Linked DNA regions of Homo sapiens: all the other regions are linked to region 1. The links are contacts of gene promoters, found by promoter capture Hi-C in blood cells and fetal thymus (Javierre and others, 2016). All regions are on one chromosome and are shown on one strand. The core of a region is centred on a gene start or on the middle of the fragment in contact, and the rest is flanking DNA. Distances in the headings are between cores, read along the strand shown. Region 1 holds the start of DOC2B (double C2 domain beta). Region 2 holds the start of NXN (nucleoredoxin). Region 3 holds the start of TLCD3A (TLC domain containing 3A). Region 4 holds the start of VPS53 (VPS53 subunit of GARP complex). Region 5 overlaps VPS53 (VPS53 subunit of GARP complex).

What was found. The method cuts DNA at HindIII sites, captures the fragments that hold promoters and counts their contacts. A CHiCAGO score of 5 or more calls a contact.
Region 2: a contact is called between the fragment with the promoter of NXN here and the fragment with the promoter of DOC2B in region 1, in 6 of 17 cell types (M1 macrophages, M0 macrophages, M2 macrophages and 3 more). The highest score is 10.9, in M1 macrophages.
Region 3: the fragment with the promoter of TLCD3A here is called in contact with the fragment with the promoter of DOC2B in region 1 in 2 of 17 cell types (neutrophils and M0 macrophages); the score reaches 6.2 in neutrophils.
Region 4: the fragment with the promoter of VPS53 here is called in contact with the fragment with the promoter of DOC2B in region 1 in 13 of 17 cell types (naive CD4 T cells, endothelial precursors, total CD4 T cells and 10 more); the score reaches 11.9 in naive CD4 T cells.
Region 5: a fragment that was not itself captured here is called in contact with the fragment with the promoter of DOC2B in region 1 in 8 of 17 cell types (naive CD8 T cells, naive CD4 T cells, total CD8 T cells and 5 more); the score reaches 9.6 in naive CD8 T cells.

The regions. Positions count from the first base shown.
Region 1 is chr17:179,270-184,949 of GRCh38, reverse strand. It overlaps DOC2B (double C2 domain beta), which reads left to right and starts at 3,300. Exons shown (of 9, transcript NM_003585.5): 1 at 3,300-3,843. The coding sequence starts at 3,471. It overlaps LINC02091 (long intergenic non-protein coding RNA 2091), which reads left to right. Exons shown (of 2, transcript NR_104420.1): 2 at 492-1,126. RefSeq lists enhancers at 2,415-2,916, 4,378-4,944. The HindIII fragment of the contact is 7,942 bases long and covers 1-5,680 here.
Region 2 is chr17:977,629-983,308 of GRCh38, reverse strand. NXN (nucleoredoxin) reads left to right here and starts at 3,533. Exons shown (of 8, transcript NM_022463.5): 1 at 3,533-3,990. The coding sequence starts at 3,631. RefSeq lists enhancers at 1,966-2,260, 3,685-4,620. The HindIII fragment of the contact is 5,276 bases long and covers 1,929-5,680 here.
Region 3 is chr17:730,504-736,183 of GRCh38, reverse strand. TLCD3A (TLC domain containing 3A) reads right to left here and starts at 3,588. Exons shown (of 5, transcript NM_024792.3): 1 at 3,415-3,588; 2 at 3,003-3,086. The coding sequence starts at 3,536. It overlaps LOC124903893 (a long non-coding RNA gene), which reads left to right and starts at 3,804. Exons shown (of 2, transcript XR_007065572.1): 1 at 3,804-4,005. RefSeq lists silencers at 3,172-3,271, 3,342-3,611, 3,632-4,111. The HindIII fragment of the contact is 13,049 bases long and covers 1,748-5,680 here.
Region 4 is chr17:710,409-716,088 of GRCh38, reverse strand. VPS53 (VPS53 subunit of GARP complex) reads left to right here and starts at 1,250. Exons shown (of 22, transcript NM_001128159.3): 1 at 1,250-1,466; 2 at 5,476-5,556. The coding sequence starts at 1,380. RefSeq lists an enhancer at 709-778. The HindIII fragment of the contact is 2,341 bases long and covers 779-3,119 here.
Region 5 is chr17:691,102-696,781 of GRCh38, reverse strand. The region is part of intron 4 of VPS53 (VPS53 subunit of GARP complex); the gene reads left to right. Among named protein-coding and RNA genes, the nearest start is that of VPS53, 21 kb to the left of the region's middle. The HindIII fragment of the contact is 231 bases long and covers 2,697-2,927 here.

The sequences.
Region 1 (5,680 bases), core at 2,051-4,550:
CCACCTCAGCATGGGGAATGGAAGGCAACATGATTGATGAGCCTTTGGACATATCCAACTGCTTAGAGATGCCCACACATGCCAGCCAGCGCCCAGCCTTGGCAAGTGCATCCATTTCTCACCTGGTCCTGGCAGCAGACAGGGAGCAGCCAACCACATGTCACTGGTAGAGAAATCAAGGCAGGCACTGGGAGCGCAATGACAGTTTGCATCAGGAAGGTTTGCACCAGGACGATTTGCACCAGGAAGTTTTGCACTGGGACGGTTTGCACCAGGAAGGTTTGCACCACGACGATTTGCACCAGGAAGGTTTGCACCACGACGGTTTGCACCAGGAAGATTTGCAATGGGACGGTTTGCACCAGGAAGGCAGGGGCAACAGAATCACAATTCCCTGAGTGCCAGTTGCACACTGGGCACTGTGCTAAGCACTGTATACCCATCCTCACCTTTAACTCACACAACGTTGTTCTTATTCTCCCCCATTGCAGATGAGACCCAGGGCCTAAGTTAAACAACTTGCCCAAAGTCCGGTACGCTTAGGAGGAGGCACACCTGACTTTTGACTCTACGTCTGCCTACTCCCTGACCTATGCTCTTTCTAGAAAGTGGACACTTGCCCAGATAACACCACTTCTATCCACTTCTATCCCTCGGGGAGGCCCTACCCCATTTCAGCTGGGCTCAGAGCTGGGCAAATTCAGACCTAGAGTGGATTTCAACTCTGCCACCTGCCAAAGGGTAGACCCCAACATGCCATGTGTTTCTCCAGTGGGCATCCTTGGGTTCCCTGGCTCCATGCTTAGGAGGCTGGGCCCTCCACCTGACTTCTTCAAAGCCCTCCCCAAGAGCCAGCTCCTGCAGAGCCAAGAGCCATGAGCCGATCCTCCAAAAACCAGACCCATAGGACAAGAGGCCAGGAGAGAGCGGCCAGCTCTCGGTGAACACAGGTACAGGGCCTTGGCAGGCTCAGCAGTCAGGACGTCCAGGTCTCATCTCCAGTCTGCCTCTTGCTAGTCACTTGACCTCCCGCAGCCTCAGTTTCCCCATCTGTAAGATGATGACGACACCCTCCAGCTCCTTAGTAAAGGAATGATAAAATGACAGTTCAGCGTCTGTATTTTAATACCTGCGTCATTATGTAATCATTTTGTGATGCAGCCACCTCTGGCACAGAAAAAGTCACCCTGTGCCTATTTAAGGATTAATCCCCTTAAGCATTCCTGGAAATGAGAACCCCTCTGTGCCAGGCTGCCCTTCCAGGCTCTTCTGTCCTTTCCTTGGCCTTTGGCTCTTGGAAGGCTGAATATTTCTCCCACCAGGACCTCAGACTATCTTTAGGGAACCCCGGCTGGTTCATTCCCACTGTAACCCCTGAGGCTCTTGGCCTCCTCCCGTCCTCCTCTTCCTCCTCCTTTTTTTCCCTCCTTCCCCTCCTCCTCAGTTTGGGCTTCCCCTGTCCAAGAAGCCTCAGGATGAGCTTTGGGAACGAGGTTTTACCTGTGTTTCCAACTCTGCTCTGAGCCCCTGAGCTCTGTAGTGGAGGGGAGGAAAGGGAGAAGGGAGGGAAAGTGGAAGCATCGAACAGTCAGGACACTGGGCTCTCATCGCAGCTCTGCCGCCAGCCAGCAGTCACCCTGGACACATCCTTGTGCCTGAGCGCTAATTTCCTCCCCTGTGAAATGGGAACAGCAGGCCCTGCCTACATCGTGGGGTGGTTTAAGGAATCAATGAGATGACAGCTGTGAATGTTCTTGGCGCAGTACAACATATGCCATGTGTTTCTCCAGTGTTTTCAAAGGCCGGTAGTGCCCGCCACCACCCAGTTCAGAACTCACCACAAAACATGAATTTCTCATCACTTCTCACCATGAGTCTTGTCTTTCCAAAGGAAGGGAGAAGGGAAAGCCAGCTGAGCACCTCTTACCTGTCTGTGCTGGATGGGGCCTTGCCACAAGGCTGTGCAGTTGGAAATAGCCTCACTTCATAGATGAGGAAACCGAGGCTCAAAGAGGTCAAATAGCCTGCCAGAACTGTGCAGCTGGAAGCCACAGGCCAAGGCTTTGCCTCTCTTTCCTCTGCTCCCCATCACTCTGCAGGGGTTATGGTGGGGGAACAAGAGAGGCTTGGAGCCCCTCATTCAGATGCACCAAAGGCACCCACTAAGAAGCTAAGTGTCTTACACATCAGTGGAAACCAGAGGGTAAACAGGATTCCATCCATGCCCAGGGCTTTCCGGGAACACACCTGTCCAAGCAGCAGCAGTTCCCAACAGAGCTCTGGTCCCGGAAAGCCGGACAGCCAGGGCTGGGCCCTCTGGGATTTGTTTAGTGATCTGACCGTGTGGGAGGCCTAGAGTAGGAGTGGGGGTGGGGGGAGCGTGCCGCCCAGCCTTATTGCATCACTCACCGCCCAGGCCCTGCCCTCACTCCCTCCTGACCAGGCCCTGTGCAGGTTCTCAGCCACCCTGCCCCGGGGGGTCCTTCAGACTGTACTCACTGACCAAGTGAGGGACTGACCCGAGGTTAGAGTGCTGTGTTGTATGTGACCTGAGAATATGTGTGCACAGACTGAGCCCCGGTGTCCTTGTGCAGTTGAGCGTGTACATGTCCTGCCCGTGTGTAGGCAACCTGTCCCTACATGCTAGGAGTGTGACTCCACGTCCTGCTAGAGGGGGAGGAGAGAAGGAGTTGTGCCCAGGGTCCCCTGATCACTTCTATGGGCTCATGTTTGTGCATCTTGTTAGGGGTGCTTGGGGGTAGGGAAGCCTGTGCCCTGGGTGCCCTTGATCACCTGTGTGTGTGCTCCATCAGGTGTGCGCGCCTGTGCATTGGGGGTGTACTGTGTCACAGCTTCCTAAAACAACCATGTGCGCATGCAGACGTTTGCGTGTGTGACCTACGGTGTGAGCGAGCGGATGCTTCCACCACGTGTCTCTGCACACGCATGTGTGCACTTGCACACCTGCGTGTGTCCCGAGAGAGCGAGCGGAGCCCAGCGTGGGCTGGCACGCGCGGGAACGTGTGGGTGCGCGTCCTGCGGGTCCCTGCCGGGTTGACTCCCAGCTTGTGCCGCGGGCGTGCATGAGCGGAAGGCGCCCGGCGGCCCTGCCTGGCCGCGAGTGTGCGCGCGCGGGGTCCCGGGCCGGCGTGCACGCCGGTGTGAGTGCGAGTGCGAGTGAGTGTGGCGCCGCGCGGCTCCCTCCGCTCCGCGCCGCCCGCGCAGCCCGCACACTCACCCTGCTTGGTTGCTGCCGGGTGACGCGGGCTGGGCCCGCCCCCTGCCTGCCGGCCTCTGGCACTCGCTCGCGCCGTCCGCAGCGGAGCGGGCAGCGGCCAAGTCAGGGCCGTCCGGGGGCGCGGCCGGCGATGCCCGCAGCCCCCGCCGCGCCCCGCCGGGCCTGCTGAGCCGCCCCCGGGCCGGGGTCGCGCCGGGCCGGGCCGCGCCCGGGGCGGGGCGGCGCTGCCTGCATGACCCTCCGGCGGCGCGGGGAGAAGGCGACCATCAGCATCCAGGAGCATATGGCCATCGACGTGTGCCCCGGCCCCATCCGTCCCATCAAGCAGATCTCCGACTACTTCCCCCGCTTCCCGCGGGGCCTGCCCCCGGACGCCGGGCCCCGAGCCGCTGCACCCCCGGACGCCCCCGCGCGCCCGGCTGTGGCCGGTGCCGGCCGCCGCAGCCCCTCCGACGGCGCCCGCGAGGACGACGAGGATGTGGACCAGCTCTTCGGAGCCTACGGCTCCAGCCCGGGCCCCAGCCCGGGTCCCAGCCCCGCGCGGCCGCCAGCCAAGCCGCCGGAGGACGAGCCGGACGCCGACGGCTACGAGTCGGACGACTGCAGTAAGTTTCCCACGCGCCGACTTCGCGCCCCCTCCCCTGGCTCGGGCTCGGCCCCCCCACGGCCTCGCGGCTTCCCTCCGCCGGTCCCCCTCGCGCGCTCGCGCTCTGCCTCGGTTCACAACCCCGCCGCGGGCTTGCGGGCCCCTGGCGCACTCGGTGCGCTCTCCGCGCCCTGCCCACCGGCCTCGAGCCCTCCCCCGACCCAGGCCGGACAGGAGGGAAGTTCGGGGGCACCCCCTGGGGGTGTCCCATTTCCGGGGCCGGGTTCCTCGGAGCCGGCGCCGCGCCCCCTCCCTGCCAGCCCGCCCTCCCGGAGCTCCGGCGCGGGCGGCTGCTTTTGTTCCCGGGAAGGGCGGAGCTGCGTCCCGGGGAGACACCAGTTGCTGCCGGCCGCGCGGTCGCTCCCCGCTCGCCAGCCGCTCCGGGAGGGCCTCGCGGCCGAGGGTCGGGGCTGGGGCGAGCTGGGGAGGGGCCCGAGGCTGGGAGCGGCCCGGCCTCCCGCGTGGTCCCGGCGGCCCGCAGAGCGCAGCTGCTTTGCTGGCGCGCGAGCAGAGGACCAGGAGGACCGCGGGGCCGCTTGTCCTTTGGAAAAACCTTGGCGTTTCCTCCTCCGGTGTCCATGGACCCCGCCGCAGCCCTCGCCAGGGCCGCGCACCTTCGCCCACCTGTTACGCCCGCGGCCCCCGGGCAGAGAGGGCCCCCCAGCCCGCTCCCCCTCCTCCCGGACTGAGCCCTGAGCCCCCGGGAGCAGGCAAGCGCCGGAGTCCCGGGACCGAGGCCCGGCCGGTGGGCGCTCCTGGCGCCTTTTCCCGTCCCCGAGGGTGCCTGTCCGGCCCGAGCCGGGACTGGCTGGGAAACCGAGGCCGGAAGAGGTCGCAGTCCAGTGAGGAGTCGGTTTGCGCGGGGTGGGGATGGCATGTGAGAACCCCCTCCTAGCTCAGCTGTGGCTCCAGACTTGTCACTGAGACCTGGAAAACCAGCGTCTCGTCAAACCCCAGCCCTTCCCGGGATGTGGCCCTTCTCCAGGGCTGGTGCTGCCCCTCCCCTGCGCAGCAGGGATGTCTGCGCCTGGCCTGGGCACTCACCAGGGCCTGTGGGCTGCGGGCCTGGAGTTTCCCAAGCATCAAATGTGCCACCAGAAGCTGAAGGTAGGGATTACCAGTGCCCCCGGGGCACAGACCCCCCATCGCCCCACCTGGGGAGGCCCATCAGCAGTGGCCGGTTAGAGCAGGGCCCCTGTAGGGGAAACTGCCTGCTTTGCACTTTCTAGAGGCCTGGACCACGGCCCTCGGGCCAGCGCCTGGCACATGAAGGCCCTGCCCTGGGGCGTGGGGGCTGGGGAGCAGTCTTGTCCCTCCACTTTCCTGCCAGCTTGGGGAGATTGGGTCGGAAGAGTTTTTTGCCCTCAGGGCTGTGCCCTAGATCCACCCCCCCTCCCCTCTGCCCCTGGCACCCTGTGCGAAGCTCACCCTGGACTTGGTGATCCCCTGGGTGGGCCCTGAGTGGGACCCAAGTAACTGCTTTGGCTGCCCTGAATCCAAAGCCTCCCCCAGAAGAACGGATGGGAAAGTTGTTCCCATTTCTGGCATCTCTGCTGCTGCACCAAGGAAGTAAGAGGGGAGGGCAGAGCTTCAGGCCACCCTCCTGGTGCCACAGAGGGCCCTCTGCATGGCGAATGGCCAAGAGGCTTTTTCTTTTTCTTTTTTTTGCTGTCTCTGAACCCACAAAGCAAGGAGGGGACCAGGAAGCTAGAAACTCAGGCCAGCCAGCCCCATCTCCAATCCATCAGCTCAGCAGCCCTTCAGGGAGCATGTCCTGGCAGCAGGGCTGGGCCCCT
Region 2 (5,680 bases), core at 2,284-4,783, 800 kb before region 1:
GCCTAGTAACTTAATATATATGATATGAGTAGCTTTAAATGTTTTCACCAAGGCCGGGTGGTGGCTCATGCCTGTAATCCCAGAACTTTGGGAGGCTGAGGCGGGTGGATCACTTGAGGCCAGGAGTTTGAGACCAGCCTGGCCAGTATGGTGAAAACCCCGTCTCTATTAAAGATACAAAAAATTGGCCAGGCTTGGTGGCGGACGCCTGTAATCCCAGCTACTCCAGAGGCTGAGGCAGAGAATTGCTTAAACCTGGAGGGGCGGAGCTTGCAGTGAGCCGAGATCGCGCCACTGCACTCCAGCTTGGGCAACAGAGCAAGACTCTGTTGCAAAAAACAAACAAACAAAACAAAACAAAAAAATTAGTGCATGCCAGTAATCCCAGCTATTTGGGAGGTGGTGCATGCCTGTAATCCCAGCTACTCGAGAGGCTGAGGCAGGAGAATCACTTGAATCTGGTAGGCAGAGGTTGCAGGAGCTGAGATCGCACCACTGCACTCCAGCCTGGGCAACAGAGTGAGACTCTGTCTGTAGGGACCAGCCCCACAGGGTCAGTGGGTCTCTCCCCGTGTGCGGAGACGAGAGAGTGTAGAAATAAAGACACAAGACAAAGAGATAAAAGGCAGCTGGGCCTGGGGAACCACTACCACCAAGTCGCGGAGACCGGTAGTGGTCCCAAATGCCAGGCTGCACTGATATTTATTGGATACAAGACAAAGGGGCAGGATAAGGAGAGTGAGCCATCTCCAATGATAGGTAAGGTCATGTGGGTCACGTGTCCACTGGACAGGGGGCCCTTCCCTGCCTGGCAGCCGAGGCAGAGAGAGAGAGGAGACAAAGAGAGAAACAGCTTCCACCATTATTAGAGACTTTTAGTACTTTCACTAATTTGCTACTGCTATCTAGAAGGCAGAGCCAGGTGTACAGAATGGAACATGAAGGCGGACTAGGAGCGTGACCACTGAAGCACAGCATCACAGGGAGACAGTTAGGCCTCCGGATAATTGTGGGCGAACCTGCAGTCAGGCCCTCCACAAGAGGTGGAGGAGTAGAGTCTTCTCTAAACTCCCCCCGGGGAAAGGGAGACTCCCTTTCCCGGTCTGCTAAGTAGCGGGTGTTTTTCCTTGACACTTACGCTACCGCTACACCACAGTCCGCCTGGCCACGGGTGTCTTCCCAGACGCTGGTGTTACCGCTAGACCAAGGAGCCCTCTGGTAGCCCTGTCTGGGCATAACAGAAGGCTCGCACTCTTGTCTTCTGGTCACTCCTCACTATGTCCCCTCAGCTCCTATCTCTGTATGGCCTGGTTTTCCCTAGATTATGATTATAGAGCGAGGATCATTATAATATGGGAATAAAGAGTAATTGCTACAAACTAATGATTAATGATATTCATATATAAGCCTATCTAAGATCTATATCTGGTATAACTATTCTTATTTTATATTTTATTACACTGGAACGGCTTGTGTCCTCGGTCTCTTGCCTCAGCGCCTGGGTGGCCTGCCGCCCACACTGTCTCAAAATAAATAAATAAATAAATAAATAAATAAATAAAGTTTTCACTAAAAAGTGATGCTTTCTGTGTGTGTTTTATAATATTGTCCCTACAGTGGCACAGACTTTCAGCATGAAAGTCTCCTGAGAATTAAGGTGGAATTCGACTTTGCAGTAGGATTCTAGGGTGTTCGAAGGCGGTCCTCCATCTAAGATCTTACCTGTGTCATTAGCAATACCAGCAGGTGACTAAGGAAGTGGATATAACTTGTAGAGACGCCAGTCCACTTTCCGCTCCCATCTCCACCTCTCCCAATTGTTTTATATGGTAACATTTCACCAAGCTGGAACCCTGCACCATTCCTTATTCTACCCTAGAAAAACGGAGAACCTTCGATGTGAACACTTACGTTTTGTGCCAAAAGCTTGAAGTTCTATTCTGAGGTTTAAATTAGCTCCCGCAAAGCGTCCTATCATTTGTGTATGTGGAAAGCTGCTGTAAAATAAAAGCATTGTGCCTGGTGTCCCGGCAGTGTCTTTTCACAAATGGAGTTTGGTCGGCCTCATTTTTCACTCTTTCCATTAGGTGGCGATGGATGCACAGGAAATATCCTCCGAAGCGGCGGTGGAAGCTCTGAGAGGGGCGGGTTTTCAGCTTTTATTTTTTTGCTTTCGCTGAGTCGTCAGTAGCTGATCCACACCGGCGGCCTGTTACTGTGGCTGGGCCCGGATCTGCACCTGCTTCGTGCACCAGTGGGTTGGGTTGGGGGGAGGCGCTGCGTGGCCAGAGTACTCGCCACGGACCACCTGTTTTTTTGTTTTTTTTGAGACGGAGTCTTGCTCTGTTGCCCAGGCTGGAGTGCAATGGAGCGATCTCGGCTCACTGCAGCCTCCGTCTCCCGGCTTCACGCCATTCTCCTACCTCAGCCTCCTGAGTTGCTCGGATTACAGGTGCCTGCCACTACACCCCGCTAATTTTTGTATTTTTAGTAGAGGCGGGGGGGGGGTGTCACCATATTGGCCAGGCTGGTCTCGAACTCCTGACCTTGTGATCCACCCACCTCGGCCTCCCAAAGTGCTGGGAATTCAGGCGTGAGCCACCGCGCCCGGCCCAGACCACCTGTTTAATCCAGCTTCTCCCTAAGCATTGGGGAGCATCCTGCCAGCTGGTAGGAAAAAAAAAATCTCTAGAAATGTTCTCAACTATCCATAGACTTGACATGAGGATGGAGCGGATTCAGGAGCGCGGCCAGCATTGGTCTGGAGGCCCCGCGGCGTCCTTTGCATCCATTTGTGGGGCTGGAAGACAGATTCGCTGGGGGGAGAGGCCCCGGCGACCCCTGGACGGAAATCCCACACTGAGACCTGGCACCCTAACCAGACCCCACCAGAAGCTGCGAGGGCGTCCTCGGCCCCCTTAGAACAGCTTGGAACACACAGAGGAGTCAGTGTCCAGCCAGGCCCGGCCTGATGCAGTGAGGACGGCGGGTCCTATAAGCATCTCAGGGTCAGTGGGGCCCGGAGCGGCCTAAGGGTCAGGCTTCGTGCAGGGAGAGGAGGAGGGAAAGGCCGGGGAGGAACAGGAAGAGGGTGAAGAGCTCCGCGGGGAGGGGGCGGGATCCCTGGAGGTCTGGAGGGAATTTAGAACTGGGGAGGAGAGAAAATGCGGGCCGGGCTGCAGCCCGGGAAAGCGCCGGCTCAGCGGGCCCTTCTCCTTTCTTCACTTCGGCCGTGGGCTTTCCAGGGAGAGTGCGGCGTTTCGGGTCCGGCTTCTCGCCCAAGCAGTCACCCCGCGCACCGCGGCCGGCAGCTGCGGACCCCGCCTGGGCGGAGAGCTCTGGCCACCGCCGGCCGCAAACGGGGCGTGGCGAGGGCGGAGGGGGCGTGGCGAGGGCGGGCGGAGGGGCGTGGCGAGGGCAGCCGAAGGGGCGTGGCGCGGGCCGCGGAGGGGGCGTGGCAGGGCGGGGGAAGGGGCGTGGCGCGGGCAGGCGGAGGGGGCGTGGCGTGGGCGGCCCTACTGGGCCGGGCTCTGCTCTCCCCAGCGCCTGCCGCCGACGCCGCCGCCTCCTCCCGCCGCGCGGACCGTGGAGCGGGGTCGCAGCCGCCTGCCCGCCCTGCGGTGGGCCAGGATGTCGGGCTTCCTGGAGGAGCTGCTCGGCGAGAAGCTGGTGACGGGCGGCGGCGAGGAGGTGGACGTGCACTCGCTGGGCGCCCGCGGCATCTCGCTGCTGGGTCTCTACTTCGGCTGCAGCCTCAGCGCCCCCTGCGCGCAGCTCAGCGCCAGCCTGGCCGCCTTCTACGGGCGCCTGCGGGGGGACGCGGCGGCCGGGCCGGGGCCGGGAGCGGGGGCCGGGGCGGCGGCGGAGCCCGAGCCGCGGCGGCGCCTGGAGATCGTCTTCGTGTCCTCGGACCAGGACCAGCGGCAGTGGCAGGACTTCGTGCGGGACATGCCGTGGCTGGCGCTGCCCTACAAGGAGAAGCACAGGAAGGTGAGCGGCGCGGGCCTCGCCGGCCCCTGCCCGCCCCCCACGCCCGTTACCCCTGCCCGCCCCCCACGCCCGTTACCCCTGCCCTCCGCCAACCCCGTTGTCCCCCTGCCCGCCCTCCACCCCCCGACCCCTGCCCCCAGTCCCCCGCCCCCCGACCCACTGTCCTCTCCCCGCCCCCCACCCCGCCGTCCCCGCCTCTGCCCCCCCCCCTTCCGCGCTGTGCCCGCACCCTCATCCCAGGACCCCTCTTTGGTTCGAGTGCTGCGCTGCGCCCGCCCTGGAAAGTTGGACCCCCCTCGGCCCCCGGGATCCCGGCTCGAGCCCCTCCGTCCGCACACGCTGGGAGCCTCGGGTGGGGGCGGCTGCGCTCGGGGATCCCGGTTCCGCGACCCCTTCACCCGCGAGCAGAGGCGCCAGGCCCTTCCTGCCTCCGCCGCCGACCCCCGCGGATTCCCACAGTGGGGAGGGGAGGGGAGGGGAGGGCGCACGCCCCCCGCCCGTGGCGCCCAAACCAGCGCGTTTCCTTTCTTTCCGGGAGAAACCTGCCTTCCCGGAGCCCCTTCCCCGGGGACCGGGGACCTGGGGGCCGAGGCCGAGGTCAGGAGAGGCGGCCGGTGACCGTGGCCGTGGCTGTGGCCGAGAAGGGCGCTCACGGCTCCGTCTCCCGCCCCCGCCTCCCCCGCCCCAGGCTGAGTTCGCGGCCACCGGGGAGCTTTGCATTGTCTGGCCGTCCAGCCTCCTCCCCAGACGCCTCCCGGGCGCGGGAACAGCCCGGGCTGTGCAGAGCTCAGCTGCGTGGTGGCCCCTGTGGTCCCGGGGTCTTCGAGTTAAGGGCTGAGCTGACCCCATCGATGCACATTGACTGGAAGAAGGAGGATTTGGGGAAATGGATACTTTGCTGTCAACTTCTCGTGTCTCCCAGTTTGCTGCCGAGTTGAGTTTGGGTTTCTGAGTGTGTCCCTTGGGTGAGGATGTCTGTCTCTGTGATAATAAAGCACATCCAGGACATTTTGTAATGAATGGAGTCAGAAAAAGTTTTGGAGCGCTGTTGCTTCGTGAGTGTATATGATGCAACGTGTGAATCCAGCCCCTTTCCCTTTTTGAGGAAAGCCTGTTTCTGGAGTGGACAGAAGGGCTATTCTGGGGGCGTTTAGTTTCCTCTGGGGAGCATGGCGAGGCGTGCCACGTGTTCCTTTTATATGTGCAGAATCTTGTTGAGAAGCATGATTTAGATTTACTGGGAGCAAAAGGCTTACACTGTGACCCCAAATGTCTTGAGTAAATCATCCATCCCGAAGCAGTGGGAGGTAGAGATTCGAGATTTAAAGTATGAAATACAGTTGATCCGATGCAGTTTGTAAATTTCATATTGGGAAAACATAGGTTCACTAACCACTCAGAGGCAAGAGTTGGCATTTTTACTGCTTTTTAGGTTATTTTGCCCATTTTGATTGACATGCTTGATATAGTATGAATATGCATGGCCAGTACTTTTTGATTCAAAATACGAGAATCCTTTGTTTTCCTTGGTGGTGGTTTTTGTGATACGTTCGTGGAGAAATAATGTTCAGAAAGGGATTTGCCAAAAAACATTTTCATTGTTACGGCAAGTTTCTGTTGTAGACTAAAGTCTACTTAAAATAATGTCCTTATCCGGCAATACAAATGATTTCTAGCTTTTGAAAACATA
Region 3 (5,680 bases), core at 2,339-4,838, 550 kb before region 1:
GACGCAGCCAGTCCGCTGAACTGCAACACTGGAAATACAGTCTACGGAGGCGCCATCTGAATTTGTGCTCTTGAGCAACTCCACACTTACCACGGCGTAAATAATGAATAAACAAATAAGGCAAGCAAGTAATGGCAAGTATAACACACTTGTAGGTGAATTCATTAGCCAGGTTCCTTTTTTTTTTTTTTTTTTTTGGTTTTGGTTTTTGAGACAAAATCTTGCTCTGTCGCCCAGGCTGGATGTAGTGGCGCGATCTCAGCTCACTGCAACCTCTGACTCGTGGGTTCAAACGATTCTCCTGCCGCAGCCTCCCGAGTAGCTGGGATTACAGGTACCTGCCGCCACGTCCGGCTATTTTCTTTTTTTTTTTCTTTTTAAGTAGCGATGGGGGTTTCACCATGTTGGCCAGACTGGTCTCAAGCTCCTGACCTCAAGTGATCCGCCCACCTCGGCCTCCCAAAGTGTTGGGATTACAGGCAGGAGCCACCGCACCCGACCTAGCTAGGTTTCTTTTGGCCAAAAAGATGCCATACTTATTCCAATGCCCATCTATGGTCTCAGGTGCTTTCTTCAAGCAATTTCAAGTAAAATACCTATAAACAGCTACTAAAATTTAGCTGAAATATAACTGGCCTCTCCCCTTGAAGGGAACCTAGGGTTTTCATGTTTTCACCAATTCAGAGAAGAGATCTGAAATTGTGACTCATGAGTAGAATCCTCTGAAGATTTATTAGCAAGAGATCTGGATTATAATCTTCACTATCACTAGCCTGTGATTTAACTTTCTTTGTAAAATGAAGATGATAATCCTTGTCTGTCTTACCTGTCAAAACTGCAGTGAAGATTAAATAATTAAATGTGGGAAAGTCGGCCGGGCACGGTGGCTCATGCCTGTAATCCCAGCATTTTGGGAGGCCGAGGCGGATGGATCACCTGAGGTCAGGAGTTCAAGACCAGCCTGGCCAACATGGCTTTACTAAATATACAAAAATTAGCCAGACGTGGTGACACATGCCTGTAACCTCAGCTACTCAGGAGGCTGAGGCAGGAGAATCACTTGAACCTGGGAGGTGGAGGTTGCAGTGAGCCGAGACCTCACCACTGCACTCCAGTCTGAGTGACAGAGTGAGACTCCATCTCAATAAAAAGAAAGGCGGCGGGGAGGGGGAGTCCTTTTAAATGTTAAAAGGTACTATACAGGCTGGGCACGGTGGCTCACACCTATGATCCCTGCACTTTGGGAGGCCTGAGTGGGAGAATGGCTTGAGCCCAGGAGTTCAGACCAGCGTGGGTGACAGAGCCAGACCCTGTCTAAAACAACAACGTACTATCTGAATTAAGTACTTAAATTGAGAAAACCACCTGGAGCTGTGACTTTGTCATTTTAGTGTCTGAATCCTTTAAGAATCTGACTAAATCCTTGGCCCCATACCACCTTCTGCCTATAATTTGGGGGGATTTTTAACTCCTTCTATCTAATCGCATTCTATGTGAAGGCATAAAATGAGAAGGCATATAATAGAAAAATATTCAGTATATAGTATATGAACCCTGAAAGGCCTTTTTTGGCTGGGTGCAGTGGCTCACGCCTATAATCCCAACACTTTGGGAGGCCCAGGCAGGAGGATCGTTGGAGCCCAGGAGTTCAAGACCAGCCTGGGCAACGCAGGGAGACCCCTGTCTCTACCAACAACAACAAAAAAAAGTTAGCCAGGTGTAGTAGTGTGTGCCTGTAGTCCAAGCTTGGGAGGCTAAGGAAGACGGGTGGCTTGAACCCTGGAGTTCAAGACTACAGTCAGCTGTCATTATGCCACTGCACCTCAGCCTGAGGTCTCGACAGGAAAAAAAAAAAGTAAAAAATTTGCTGGGTGTGGTGGCTCATGCCTGTAATCCCAGCACTTTGTGAGGGTGAGGCAGAAAAATGACTTGAGCCCAGGAGTTCAAGACCAGCCTGGGCAACATAGTGAGACCCTGTCTTTAAAAAAAAAAGAAGAAGAAGAAGAAGAAAAATTGTACCCAGCCACACCAATATTAACCTTTGGTGTCTACAATCGATGTCACTTGATCTATCGTAGCATCTACTTATTCATCGCCAATAGCCAGTTTTGTTTTTAAAAAGGCAGAAGAAAAGCACAAAAATCATGACAGCAGGATTGATCCCAGGTAAGACCGCAGGCTAGAGTGAGACGGACAGCTTGCTCAGGCCCCTCGCAGTTCAGTCTCAGCAGGTGAGAAGCAGGACTTGGCAGAGCCCACAGGAGAGCAGGGCCTGGAAAGGCCGTTCAACTTCCTGCACATCCGACTGTGGTCCTTCAACTTGGGAGAAAGTGAGTGTGATTCCAGCAAGACCGGTGGGGAAAAAAAAGGCTTGAAATAATAAAAGCACCACCATTGTCCAGGTCTAACTACTGTACAAAGTCGACTATTCTGGTCTTAATTTATGATTTGTTTCACTGGAACTGCAGATAGGTGCACATTTCCTGACCTGCCTCTGGACTGACCTCTGATAGACGTACAAGTCCGTGTTCTAAGCGCTGGGAACCTCTCAATCACCTTTAGCAAATCTGCAGGAAAAGCAAGAGCGGCGTTTGCGTGGAAGGGGGTGGTGGGTTGGTTCCTTTCCATGGAGGGGGCTCTGCTAACCACACTGGACGTCTGTTAGCCAGTGATGCTCCAGAGTGAGAACCCAGTGAAGCCAACTGCAAGAATCAAGCCACACTCCCAGTCGTAAATGCTTCCACGCTTATCTCTTCCATGAAGGACCTGGATCCCTGGCTCACACCACCTGAAATCAGACTCCGACTCTGTCGTCCTCCCTCATTTCCGTGGACTTTCTCCTAAGCTGGGGGTGCCCGAAGACTCCGGAGAGGAAGAAGGAGCCCATTGTGGTGCCAGCTTTTCCCATTAGTCAGCTTTCTGAGCGCGTGTGCTGCGAGAGCCAGAGCCTGCGAGCTACTGAAATGTGACATTTGCAACAAGGCCCCGGCCCGGGCTCTTACCTGCCGGTGATCACGTCGTCGCAGGAGCGAATGATGACGATCCCCGAGCCGGTGGCCAGCACGGCGTGCACCGAGGAAACCAGCCTAGCGCGGGCGGAGAGAACAGCGCGCGCGCTCAGTCCGGTCCGAGGACCGCAGGGAGCCCGGCCCGGCCCTTCGGCCTGACTCTCCCCAGCCGCAGGCAGATGTGGGGAGCGGGCTCCGGAGGCTCATCGGCCATTCCCGCCCGCCCCGGCCCCGCTCCCGCCAGGGGAGGACGCGGAGGGGCTTCGGAAACTCGGGCCGCCGGGACGCGGAGGGAGCAGCCCCCGGGCTTCCTGCCGCCCCCCTTTTCCGCCCTGGGCCCCGCGGCCGGGTGGGGTGCGGTGGGCAGCGCCCCGGGCCTCGGGGGGCGTCTCGGCGGCGCCGGTACCTGGTGCTGATCATCACGCAGTCGGTGCGGCTCCATCCGGGCTGGGAGCGGCGCAGCGCCCAGGTGCAGAGCGCGAAGAGCCCCGGGAAGAAGAGCGCGCCCCCGGCCAGCGTCAGCAGCATCGGGGCTGCGGGTCCGGCCGCCTCGCTGGCGCCGCGTGGCTGGGTTCGGCTCGGCGCGCCCCGGCCCGGCCGCGCGATTTCAACCCTCCGCCCCCGTCCCCGTCCCGCCTCCGCCCGGCGCTGGCCCCGATCCCGCGGCGCGGCTCTGCGCGTGACCAGGCCCGGCGGCTGCGATAGGGCGGGGCGGGGTCTCTCGCGGTCCCTGGGCCCGGAGGGTTCCCCGGCGTCCCCGGCGGGCGGGTGGGCGGGGGCGGAGGCGGGGACCGAGGCGGCGGCTGTGGCCGGGGCCGCGGCGCGCGCGCGTTCCGAGTCCGCCGCTCCCTCCCGAGCGGCCGCGGGGCCCAGGCGGAGGCGGGAAGGGCCGCGGCTCCCGGCTTCTGTTCCGTCAGCGGACGCGCCCCTCCCCGACCTGCTCTTCTCGCCGGCCCCGGGCGAAGGGGCGGGGTGGGCGCGGGGCCGAGGAAGCCAGGTAGGAACCCCCTCCGGGGTGGGGCGAGGCCCGCGGGGAAGGAAGGAGGGAGGCGGCGTGTGGCCCTGGGTTCGCGGGCCCCGTCCACCAAGCCCTGGTGCTTCTCGGTGGGAGGCCTCAGGATGTGGCCTCTCCCCGCACGGCCGAGATGCTTTTCCCGGTGCCGCCAGCGGCTGCAGCCGCTCCGGGGTGGCCCTCAGGAAGCGTGAGGTCCGGGGGCCTCCAGCAGCCCCTCTCCACCTGCACCAGGAGGCGGACTGTGGAGGCTGCAGGCTCTTACTGCCTCTCGGCTTTGGATCTATCCGGAGACACCATCCAGAGGCGTAGGGACTGTGGTGTTGTTCACAACGTGTCGTTATTTAAAAGTATCGGGGTCGGGCGCGCCTGTAACCCCAGCACTTGGGGAGGCCGAGGCGGGCAGATCACTTGACGTCAGGAGTTCGAGACCAGCCTGACCACCACGGTGAAACCCCGTCTCTACTAAAAATACAAAATTAGCCAGGTGTGGTGGTGCCTGTCTGTAGTCCCAGCTACTCTGGAGGCTGAGGCAGGAGAATCGCTTGAACCTGGGAGGCAGAGGTTGCAGTGAGCCGAGATCACGCCACTGCACTCCAGCCTGGGCCACAGAGCAGGACTCTGTCTCAAAAAACAAACAAACAAACAAACAAAAAAACAGTTATCGGGACAGGCGTCTAAACTTGAATGAATTGGAATACATTTCATTTGTGCCAAGCACCAATCACATGGATGAAGACAGGAATTTCAGTATCATTGGCTTCTGTCCTTTAGGAACTACCAGCTTTATTTTGCTTTGGTCTGTATCTTCCTCAGCTAACAAACGTAGGGGGTGGGAAATACAGTTCATTTATGTTACTACAAATGAAAGGTATGACGGGTCTCCTCAGATCACCGTCATGCAAAATGCTGACCAAAATCCCGTATGAGGACTTCGGAACAGCTGGGCTCGGCTCTCTGGGCCACGATTTGCTGGTCCGTGAAATGAGAGGGAGGCTGGATCACTAGCTCTTTAACGGTCTTCCAGCTCTAGATTCTTATGAGTCTATGACTTTTACAAAGTGGCAGATGATTTCTGTTAGGTGCCAGTTAAATTACTTTAACACGGCAGTTAGTGATGTAGGAACTGGTGTAGAGTGAGCACAGCTTTTGTTTTTTTCAATTTGGATTCATTCATGATGGAGTCTGAAGATGTTTCTCAGGTTTAAAAGATAGTTTTCCTTCAGTGGTAGTATCAGTTACTAGGCTGTGACCTTTTGGAATGAATGTAGCCTCTAACATCTTCCTATATGTGGTTAAGAAAAGGGACTTAGCCAACAGGACGGTGGCAGACAGCCTCAAGAAAAGCCTCAAACTTCGTCCACTTAGGGCAACATCTCTAACTCCCAAATTCACTGCTGACATACTCAGTGAAAGGAGAAAGCCACTTCAGGTTGGTCCCAAGATATCTGACAAATGCGACGCTCTCTTTATTTTCACATTCGCTTGTGGACAAAACCAGCTACCTGTGAACTCTCCATTCTCTCCAGGAAAACGACTCTGTGCAGTCCACTGTCTCTTTCCTAAGCATTTATCACAGTGACCTCCAGCGCCAGTGTTTCCAGAGAGTGACAGGTGGTTACAAGTCCTCCCTGCCTTCCCTCCTTAAAGGGAGCAGCAG
Region 4 (5,680 bases), core at 1-2,500, 530 kb before region 1:
TACTGCTCCTATTTTTTACTTTGAGCAACTCTGATAACAACAACAAAAAAAAGTTCAGTGGGGCCAACGCGTTTCCCTCCTGGAGTTTCCCGGTTCACCTGGTGGAGCGGGTCCTCCTTGGGCTGCAATTCCCTCCTTCTTTTCAGTGTCTGCAGGAAAGGTGGTTTCACAGGGTGATCGGTGATCTGGCTTATTTGTTCCTTTGTGGGGGTAAGGGCTGGGCACCTCACTATTTCCTGTATTACCAGCTTGAATTTACATCGCGCTGTTAATGTTTAATCCTCTCCACATCGACGCGGGGTAGTAATTTGTTCCAAGTCACACAACTTATCAATGGTGGACTATTCAGGACTTAGATCCCGGATATTCAACCTCAGTAAACGTCTCCCCAGCTCCAGGGCGCTGCGTCATCTGGCTTTAAAAAAACGTTTCTGGCCGGGCGCAGTAGCTCACGCCTGTCATCCCAGCACTTTGGGAGGCCGAGGCGGGCGGATCACGAGGTCAAGAGTTCGAGACCAGCCTGGCCAACATGGTGAAACCTCGTCTCCACTAAAAATACAAAAATTAGCTGGGCGTGGTGGCGGGCGCCTGTAATCCCAGCTACTCGGGAGGCTGAGACAGGAGAATCGCTTGAACCCAGCAGGCGGGGTTGCAGTGAGCCGAGATCGCGCCGTTGCACTCCAGCCTGGGCAACAAGTAAGACTCCGTCTCAAAAAAAAAAAAAAAAAAAAAAAAGACGTTTCTCCCCATAAGGAGGCTGCAGTCACCTCGAAAAGCTTCTGCGCAGAGCCCGGCGCACGGGGAATTTCTATCGAGTGGGCACTGTCCCGTCCTACGAATGTCCTTGGCGACATCGCCACTCGCCAGCTGGGATCACGTCGCCCCCGTGGCCGGGGACACCCGCTGCCACTGACCGAGGGGGCCCCGGGAGCTGAGAGGTCGCCGCTGCGCTGCCCGCGGAGGCTGTGGGCTGCGGTTGGCGACGCCGCAGGGCTGACTTTCATCCGGGCGTCCTGCTGGAGGCCAGACCCTACCCCAACCTCGGGGTCCTCAGTGCGGGGCGCGCCTTGGGGAGGGAAGAGGCCCCGCCCATCCTAAGGACGCGCTGAGGCCACGCGGGGCCGCCGGGATACTGCGTTGCCCGGGAGACACCTGACGTGACAGGAACGCCGCCAGTCTCAGTCCGCCGTGATCCCACAGTTCCCCGGTCCCGGAAGTGCCCTGGCCTGCCGGAAGTGCCGGAGCGGCTGACAGAGCGGCTGACGGAGCCGGGCTCACCAGGTCGCTGCCGCGAGGGAGTTGCTGTGCTGGGGCCTGGGTGGCGGCTGGAGGCCTGAGTTGGGCTCGCGGCGGGGGTCGGCAGGGGGCCGGGTGGCGGAATGATGGAGGAGGAGGAACTGGAGTTCGTGGAGGAGCTGGAAGCCGTGCTGCAGCTCACGCCCGAGGTGCAGCTGGCCATCGAGCAGGTAAGCGTTCCGCCCCTCAGGAGGGGAAACGGGAGTGCGGGAGGGGAGACGGCAGCTCCGGGCGCTGGGGAGGCCGCGGCGGGTGGACGGAGGGCCGGGGGCTCGCGGCAGAAGGGAAAGTGGAGGTGGGGAGGTGGTGCGGGTGAGAAGCGGTTTCTGAATCAGAAGGAAAGGAAAGAGAACCCTTTCTAGGCTTTGATTGTCTTTGGCGAGGGCTGGGGGTTCTGGTGGTTTTGGGGAAAGGAATTGTGCGCTTAGAGAGGACGACGCTAGGAGAATGCAGGCCTTGGGTGCCATCCTCAGATTCTGGGGACTGTGGGGGCTTCATGCATTTACCAGACTCGTGCCAACGCCCCGGTTTTGCAAGCTGGCACCTCGTGAGTGGCTTGGAACTGGGGGAAGGGAATGACTTTAATTTCTGAAGCGGACGGCAGAGAAGAGAGAAAGTGTTGAAAAATGACATCGTTACCATTCTTAAAAGGTTGAGAATTCCTACCGTTGAATAGTTTGGGTGAGGTTGGAGAATACTCCCAAGGGGCCTCTTTTCCCTTCAGGAACTTTTTTTTTTTTTTTTTTTTGAGACGGATTCTCGCTCTGTCGCCCGGGCTGGAGTGCAACGGCACGATCTCGGCTCACTGCGACCTCCGCCTCCCGAGTTCAAGCGATTCTCCTGTCTCAGCCTCCTGAGTAGCTGTGATTACAGGCGCACGCCACCACACCCGGCTAATTTTTTTTTTTTTTTGGGGTAAAGACGGGGGTTTCACCGTTTTGGCCAGGATGGTCTCGAACTCCTGAGCTCAAGTAACCCGCCCGCCTTGGCCTCCCAAAGTGCTGGGATTACAGGCGTGAGCCACCACGCGCGGCCCTGCCTGCAGGAACTCTTGCCTTTGCAAGTTTATTGAGTTTTTAAGGCTAATGATATTAGAAATAGTGATTTTTTTCTTTTCTTTTTTTCTTTTTTTTTGTTTTCTGAGACGGAGTCTCGCTCTTTCGCCCAGGTTGGAGTGTAGGGGTGCCATCTCGGCTCACTGCAACCTCCGCTTCCAGGTTCAAGTGATTCTCCTGCCTCAGCCTCCTGAGTAGCTGGGACTACAGGCAACCGCTACCATGCCTAGCTAATTTTTGTATTTTTAGTAGAGACCGGGTTTCACCATGTTGGCCAGGCTGGTCTTGAACTCCTGACCTCAGGCTATCCGCCCGCCTCGGCCTCCCAAAGTGCTGGGATTACAGGTGTGAGCCACTGCACCCGGTCAGAAATAGTGATTTCTAATACTGCAGGGTATTGCTCCTGATAAACGGAGAAAATCTCCCTTAAAGGAATTGTCATGAAGTTATATGATTTAAGAAAGGGATTTATGATTGAGGAAATGGACAATTCCATTATGCCTTATTTAATGACCCCTGGGAAACTTTTTTTTTTTGAGATAGGGTCTTGCTCTGTTGTCCAGGCTGGAGTACAGTGGCATAATCGTAGCTCACTGCAGCCTCGAACTCCTGGGGCTCAAGTGATAACCCTGCCTCAGCCTCCCGAGTAGCTGGGACTACAGGTGCATTCATTGACGCTTCGATGTGTGTTTTTCCAGTAGTGGTTGGATTACTTATACAACCAACTTTGTCCTAGCCTGAGAACGCCAAACCATTGGGCAGGAAGCTTTTAGTGTTCCGGCCACACGGCTCCACCACTTACCTCCTTTTGCCAGAAAAAGACATAACATTTCTGTTGCTCTTTGGACTAGTGGGCTCTCATGGAAGAAAAGAATAATGCAGTCAGTTACTGTTTGGTTGACAGGTATCAGAAAAGCACATTTTTGCTATTTCTTTTGTTTGTTTCAACAGCTTTTGGGGTACAGGTGGTTTTTGATTACATGGATGAATTACATAGCGGTGAATTCTGACATTTTTCCTATTTTGTAAGAATAAGTTTGAGTGATAGTATAGCAGACATCTTTATGTCAAGCAGAATTCAGACATCATTATGTCAAGATGAATTCAGAATTTTTTCTTACTTTAGCACTCTGAATGAAATTCTGTAGTAGCATACTTGTAAAGAGTAGTGATGTGTGAGGAGTCAGGAAGGGTTGATAAAATGGAATCACATTTTACTCCAAGATGAAGTCCCAGAGTCATTGCATAAGGTGAAAATTGGCTGGGCTCGGTGGCTCACACCTGTAATCCCAGCACTTTGGGAGGCCAGGGCGGGTGGATCACGATGTCAGGAGTTCAAGACCAGCCTGGCCAACATGGTGAAACCCCGTCTCTCCTAAAAATACAAAAATTTAGCTGGGCATGGTGGCAGGTGCCCGTAATCTCAGCTACTCGGGAGGTTGAGGCAAAGAACTGCTTGAACCCGGGAGGCAGAGGTTGCAGTGAGCTGAGATGGTGCCACTGCCTTCCAGCCTGAGCGACAGAGTGAGACTCCATCTCGAAAAAAAAAAAAAAAAAAAAGGCGAAAGTCACTCTAGACATGAAAATCACTCTGCCCTGAAGTTCTTTAAATTGCCCATGAAGGCCGGGTGTGGAGGCTCACGCCTGTAATCCCAGCACTTTGGGAGGCCGAGGCGGGTGGATCACAAGTTCAGGAGATTGAGACCATCCTGGCCAACACGGTGAAACCCCTTCTCTACTAAAAACACAAAAAATAAGCCGGGTATGGTGGCGAGCGCCTGTAGTCCCACCTTCTCAAGAGGCTGAGACAGGAGAATGGCATGAACCTGGGAGGTGGAGCTTGTAGTGAACCAAGATCGCGCTACTGCACTCCAGCCTGGGTGACAGCGCGAGACTCCGTGTCAAAAAAAAAAAAAAAAATTGCCCATGAAGTACCACGTATGCATCTCTGATAAGTCTAGGGCTGTTAGTTTTTTTCCTCCATCATTGGAACCAGTCATTCTTTTTTCAGCTGGCTTTTGTTAGGAGCCTTGTTACATGAAAACAATTTAAAACCTAGGACAGCACTAAAACCTAGGAGTCGTGAGAGGAATACAGAAACTGAGAGCAACTTGAGGAAATAGTTTGTATCTCTTGTATCCTGCTCTCTGTGGGTTATACTTTCCCTCTGGTGAGCACGTATCATTGAGACTGTGTAAATAACCTGTGTATATGTGCATTATGGAAACAGCAATGCTGAACATTTTAAAAAGAAAACATCTTCACTTTCTTCTCATCCACCTCCTCTTGATGTGGTAGAAGGCTTCAGCTTTTCTAACAGTTGTCTTGAAGATATTTTGATTTTTTGACTCTATATTTCTTTGGAAGGCTTCTTCAGAGATGAAGTTGCTTCCCACAGTTGTAACTCTATCAAGCTGGGTGAGACCCAGTGTCCAGTGGATAATTTGGCTGCTTGTATCATCCACCTTGTTGCGTGTTCTTCAGGTTGTTAGGGAGTTAGCTGTATGTCTTAGAGGTGGACTGTTTTTGAGAGAGGATCTCACTCTGTCGCCCAGGCTGGAGTTCAGTGATAGAATCTCGGCTCACTGCAACCTCAACCTCCTGGGCTCTGGTGATCCTCCCATCTCAGCCTCCCACGTAGCTGGGACTATGACAGGCATGTGCCATGGCACCCAGCTAATTTTTTTTTGTAGAGATGTGGTTTCACCATGTTGCCCAGGCCAGTCTCCAACTCCTGAGCTCAAGCGATCCGCGCAGCCTTATTTTAATTAATTAATTAATTAATTTAATTTTGAGACAGAGTCTTGCTCTTTCGCCCAGACTGGAGTGTAGTGGTGTGATCTCGGCTCACTGTAACCTCCGCCTCCCGGGTTCAAGCAATTCTCCTGCCTCAGCCTCCTGAGTAGTTGGGATTACAGGTGTGCGCCAACACCACACCCAGCCAAGTTTTTATTTTTAGTAGAGACCTGACCTCAGGTGATCCATCTGCTTTGGCCTCCCAAAGTGCTGTGATTACAGGCATGAGCCACCGTGCCCGGCCCTTTCCTTTTAATTGACAAATTAAAATTATATATATTTACGGTATACTACATGTTTTTATATATACTCCTCTCTTTCTATATAGGTGTTTCCAAGCCAGGACCCTCTAGATCGAGCAGATTTCAATGCTGTTGAGTATATCAATACCCTGTTCCCAACCGAGCAAGTAAGTAGAGTTTCAGGTTTCCTTCCTTTCAGCAGCTTTTGGCACATCTTGGGTGTTATGCTTCGTGTGTTACACTAGATCATCTACGGGCCCTTGATACACAAGGGAGAGTTAAATTCAAATC
Region 5 (5,680 bases), core at 1,563-4,062, 510 kb before region 1:
TCTTATTGGATCTAGTTAAGGAGGCCATTGGAGGGAATGAAGTAAGTCTTACTGGATCTAGTTAAGGAGGCTGTTGGAGGCAATGAAGGGAAAAGTGTGTAGGGAGGAGATACTCTTTAATAATTGAGGGGCCAGATGTTATCTGTGAACCATTTCCCTTTTTATTTGATTCTGTTCTTCTGTTGAGGCATCGTATTTCAGAATGGCTGTTGTAGTAGAAATGCTGAGCTTGCCTTTCTAGCCGTCCTCTCTTGCCATGTCCTGTCCTCCCTTATCAGCACTAACTCAGGTCAGGACTGCTTCTTTGCAATTGCTTCAATGCTGTGATTTCTCCTCTTTGACATTTTTTAGGACAGCTAATTTCTAAAAATGTTCATCCTGCTGCCCAGATTTGGAGTGGGAGGAGCATATAATCCTACGCTGAAATTTCCAGATCTCTGATATTTCTGTTTCCTTCTGCCAGTTGCTTACAGATATTAGGAGTCTCTTTCTTTTACATCTGTAGTTTTCCCATCTGTCTATTTTTACTACTTTATATCACTTTCTTTTTCCATTTTTCCACTTTATAGTCACTTTCCATTTGATAGCCAGTTTCCTTTGGCCTGTTTGTGAGTAGCTGGCCTTCTTGTCATCATCAGAATTTGTGTGTAGACACATTAGGTTCCTAAAACTGTTCTGGTTTTCTGGACTCCTGTATTTTTTTTAGCCCTCGTTACCTCGTTTTGTCTGTTGAGGTATATTTCATGAAGCATGGCTTCTTTGGCAGATGAGGCCCATGTAAATGGGACCTTCAGAGGGGTCCTACAGAGGGACAGGGCAGCCTCAAGCACTCCAGCTGCATTCTGCTGCTTAGCTGTCCTAATCTGTGTTTGATCGTATTGTCTACCTCTTCAGACACCGTATCAGCTCTGGCCACTAAATGAAATCCAAGGCCAGGCATGGTGGCCCACACCTGCAATCCCAACACTTTGGGAGGCCGAGGCGGGGAGATCACTTGAGCCTAGGAGTTCAAGGCCAGCCTGGGCAACATGACAAAACCCTGCATCTTCAAAAAGTACAAAATTAGCTGGGCATGGTGGTGGCCTGTGCCTGTAGTCCCAGCTACTGAGGAGGCCGAGACAGGAAGATCAGCTGAGCCAGGAAGTTCGAGGCTGCAGTAAGCCATCATCGCGCCACTGCACTCCAGCCTGGGAAACAGAGTGAGACCCTGTTTAAAAAAAAAAAGAAATCCAAATTCCTTTGCTTGGCATTCAAAATTCTGGTCTCCAATTCCAGTTTTGCCTCCTCTTGTGTTCTGTCTACACTGAAGACTTTGTGCTCTACGAGCATGCCTGTGCTTTCTGGACCTGTGCTTACAGACTCTTTTGTGCTTGAAATGCTTTTCCTCCTATTTCTTTAAGCCGCCGCATTTCCCAATCTTACCCATCCAAGGACCAGCTCAGATACTAGTTTCTTGACGATGTTTTCCATGGACCTTATCTGAATACACCAAGGAATCAGAATTTTGAACTGGAAAGGATTTGAAACTCATCTGGGCCCCTCCCCTCATTTTACAGAGGAGAAAATGGATTCCAGTGTCCCTCGATGTCCTTTCTCCATAAATCCCACAGCCCCATTCTTGTACTTTTCATTTGGCTTTTGGGGTCTCCCTTGACTTACCAGAGAACAAGTCTCATCCCTTTGATGTTTGTAAGCTCCTGGAAGGTAAGAACTGTATCTTTGTCATCTTTCTATTTCACTACACATAGGCCACATGCAATAACATTTTATTCAACTGAGCCAGGCACAATGGCTCATGCCTGTAATCTCAACACTTTGGGATGCCTAGGTGGGAGGATGACTTGAGGCCAGGAGTTTGAGACCAGCCTCGGCAACATAGCAATACACGTCTCTACGAAAAGGTAAAATAATTAGCTGGGTGTGGTAGTACAAGCTTCAGTGAGCTGTAATGGTGCCGCCGCGCTCCAGCCCGGATGACAGAGCGAGACCCCATCCCCAAAAGCAACAGCAAAACCCCCACAACATTTTATGCAACTGTATTGAATATTTTGTCTGTCTAAGATTGTTTATTAATTATAAATAAACAAAAACATTTTATCATAAAAACATCATTTTGATCAGCAAGTGGGTGTTCCTTAAAAGTGATTTAGAACTTGCTTTGTGCATTAAGAGTCCCAACTTGCTGCTACTGGGAATAGTAACACTGCTTGTTCAGTGTGATTCAGCCTACATTTGGAATGGCTCACTAGAAGTCTTACAGTGCAGGAGTCATAGATGTTTAAAATTTCAAGAATGTGAAAATAGTGAGTGATTCATCGGCATTTTTTGTTGGGTCATGCTGTGCATAATAGATGTGTATCTTTCAGTTATTTACGTTTCAACCTGTGGTTCTGGACTCTTGCAAACTAGCGGTATTACAGAGTCAGACCCAGAATTCGACAGTCTGCAGGAATGTCGGCGTTCTCCCCCATCCCGTATTAATAGGTTACAGGTTGCCGCAGCAGAGCAGGTCGTATTTCACAGAGCAAGACCACATTTTCAAGAATGTTTAGATAGCATTTCAATCTGTGATGGAACTTTGTATTCGTCTCCTTAGAATCCAGACAGAAAGGAAGCCCAGAAGAAATAACTGCTTTTCCTGTCATGGCCCCATCTGTCTTTTCCAGCACTTTGTAATGCAAACTGAAGTACAAGCTTTTTTTTTTCCAAGGAGCTCTTGGGTCCTGTCCTTGTCAACTCCTAGGTATGAAAGCCTTGCTCTCCAGCCCTGGCTGGCTGGTTTGCTAAAAGGAGTCTATTTGACTGCAACAGACTTGGTGGAATTACGGATGTTCCAAAATACTGAGTTTTGTAGGTCAAGAGGCCCCACGTTCCCCTCTTCCCTGGAAGAGAAGAGAAGTTTGCTTTCAGCACTCGCTTCCTAAGCTTCTGAAGAACACTCAGAAGGGAGTGGCATATGGACAAAAGGAGGTTTTCGTTTTATAAATTTAATCTTGATTGTGTTTAACCAGAACCGATGTGCCGCTTTTAAATTTGTATTTATTATTATCATGTTAGGGACAGGGTCCTGCCTTGTTGCTCAGGCTGGAGTGCAATCATTTTTCACGGTAACCTTGAACTCCTGGGGCCAAGTGATCCTCCCACCTTAGCCTCCGAAGTAGCTAGGACTACAGGCATGTGCCACCACACACAGCTATTTTTAATTTTTAATTTTTTATTTTTGGTAGAGATGGGTTCTTGCTGTGTTGCCCGGGCTGGTCTTGAACTCCTGGCCTGAAGTGATCCTCCTGCCTTGGGCTCCCAAAATGCTGAGATTATAGGCATGAGACACTTATTATTACAAGTCGTCCCCACTTACCTGTGGGGGATACATTCCAAGACCCCCAGTGGATGCCTGAAACCCAGAGAGTAGCAAACCCTATATATGCCATATTTTTTCCTATGTATACATACCTGTGATAAATTTTAGCATGCAAATTAGGCACAGTAAGAGATTCACCACAATAACTGAAAATAAAATAGCACAATTATGACAGTATGCCAGCATCACTCCTCTTGTGATTTGGAGCTGTATGTAATAGCCGAGATGGCTGCTAGGCTATACCCAGCCTAGATGTGCTTCTTGCTTCTTTGTTTTTTGTTTTGTTTTTGAGTCAGAGTCTCGCTGTCAGCCAGGCTGCAGTGCAGTGGTGTGATCTCGGCTTACTGCAACTTCTGCCTCCTGGGTTCAAGCGACTCTCCTGCCTCAGCCTCCTGAGTAGCTGGGATTACAGGCATGCACCACCACGCCTGGCTAATTTTTGTATTTTTAGTAGAGACGGGATTTCACCATGTTGGTCAGGCTGGTCTCAAACTCCTGACTTCATGGTCCGCCCGCCTCGGCCTCCCAAAGTGCTGGGATTACAGGTGCGCACCACCATGCCCAGCTCATTTTTGTATTTTTAGTAGAGACAGGGTTTCACCATGTTGGTCAGGCTGGTCTCAAACTCCTGACCTTGTGGTCCGCCCGCCTCGGCCTCCCAAAGTGCTGGGATGACAGGCGTGAGCCACCGCACCCGGCTAGGTGTGCTTCTATATCTGTAAATAAGGGGAAAGTGTTGACTTCACATTCATGGTGTCTTAAATGACATTTTTAGCAGAAAAGTTGCTTTTGAAAAGCAATGTTTTTGACTCAAAAATTATTTGGGGGTAAGGAATGATTTAAATATTGAAGGCATAATTAGGTCATTTCTTGAGCTTCTTGAAGTTTCTGAAATACCAGCCGCTTGGTTAACATTCTGCTAAACGTTTGCAGAGTCTTTGTTTTTTGACCACCTTCTATGTGGGCCAGCTTGAACTGGTCTAGTCTGTGACCTCTTCTAACCAGACGATGATGCTCTTATAAAGTTTATATGGCACGGAATCCTCCCCATTTTTATCTGTTGAAATCATCAGTCAAAAGCTTTAATTAAATGCCCACGTTTAAAACTTTGTGGATGAGTCAATTCAACAAGTACATGATGTGGTATGCTATGAAATTTTTGCAGCTTCCCAAGAATTAAAATGGATGGCTTGAACGTAGGTGAAAGAGAGGTGAATAGAGGGGCGGGTTAGAGGAAGAAAAAGCCGGCAGTGGGAAGTTTCAAGAGTGGCCAACGTTGACCGGTCGTCAGTAAGCTCTCAGACTCACAGGAGAGGATCAGCCACCGAGTTTCTGTCTCTTCAATGGAGCCTGGCTGCAATGTAGCCATTTCTTTGATCAGAACAAGAGTAAGGTTTGGGAGGAGAAGAGAATTATTACAAGTCGTCCCCACTTACCTGTGGGGGATACATTCCAAGACCCCCAGTGGATGCCTGAAACCCAGAGAGTAGCAAACCCTATATATGCCGTATTTTTTCCTATGTATACATACCTGTGATAAACTTTAGCATGCAAATTAGGCACAGTAAGAGATTCACCACAATAACTAAAAATAAAATAGCACAATTATGACAGTATGCCAGCATCACTCCTCTTGTGATTTGGAGCTGTATGTAATAGCCGAGATGGCTGCTAAGTGACTAATAGGTGCTGTATTCAGCATGGATATACTGGGTGAAGGAATGATTCGTGACCTGGTCAGGACAGAATTGGGTGGTGCAAGATTTTATCACACTACTCAGAATGGCGCATAATTTAAAATTTACTAATTGTCTGTTTCTGGAATTTTCCATGTAATATTTTTGGACCACAGTCAACTACAGGTGGCTAAAACCTCAGAAAGTGAACTGCTGATAAGGAGGGGGTGCTGTATTGCTCACTCCTTCGCTTTGGAAGAAGGATTAGGTAATTGTAGTACAATCTTCCACCCAGTTCAGGAGTCCTTTGTATTACATCTCTGACGTTTCATTATCTTGCAGAAGCTTGGCTACTTTCAGTGATGGGGAGCTTGCTACTTTGTTGGTCCACAGGACAGACTAGTTCAGTTTTATAGCTTTAGTTGTGAGAAACTCCTTTCTTAGACTGAACTGAAACAGTGAAATAGACTTCATTGTAACTTCTTGTTGATCTTAGTTCTGCCAGCTGGATGGGTGTAAGCCTAATCCCTTTTCCTTACTACAGCTTCTGAAATTGAAAATGGATATTATGTTCCTAAGTGTTCCCTTTTCTAGGCTAACCATTCTTAGTTTCTTCATCTTTATAATGCAATTTCCAGACCCT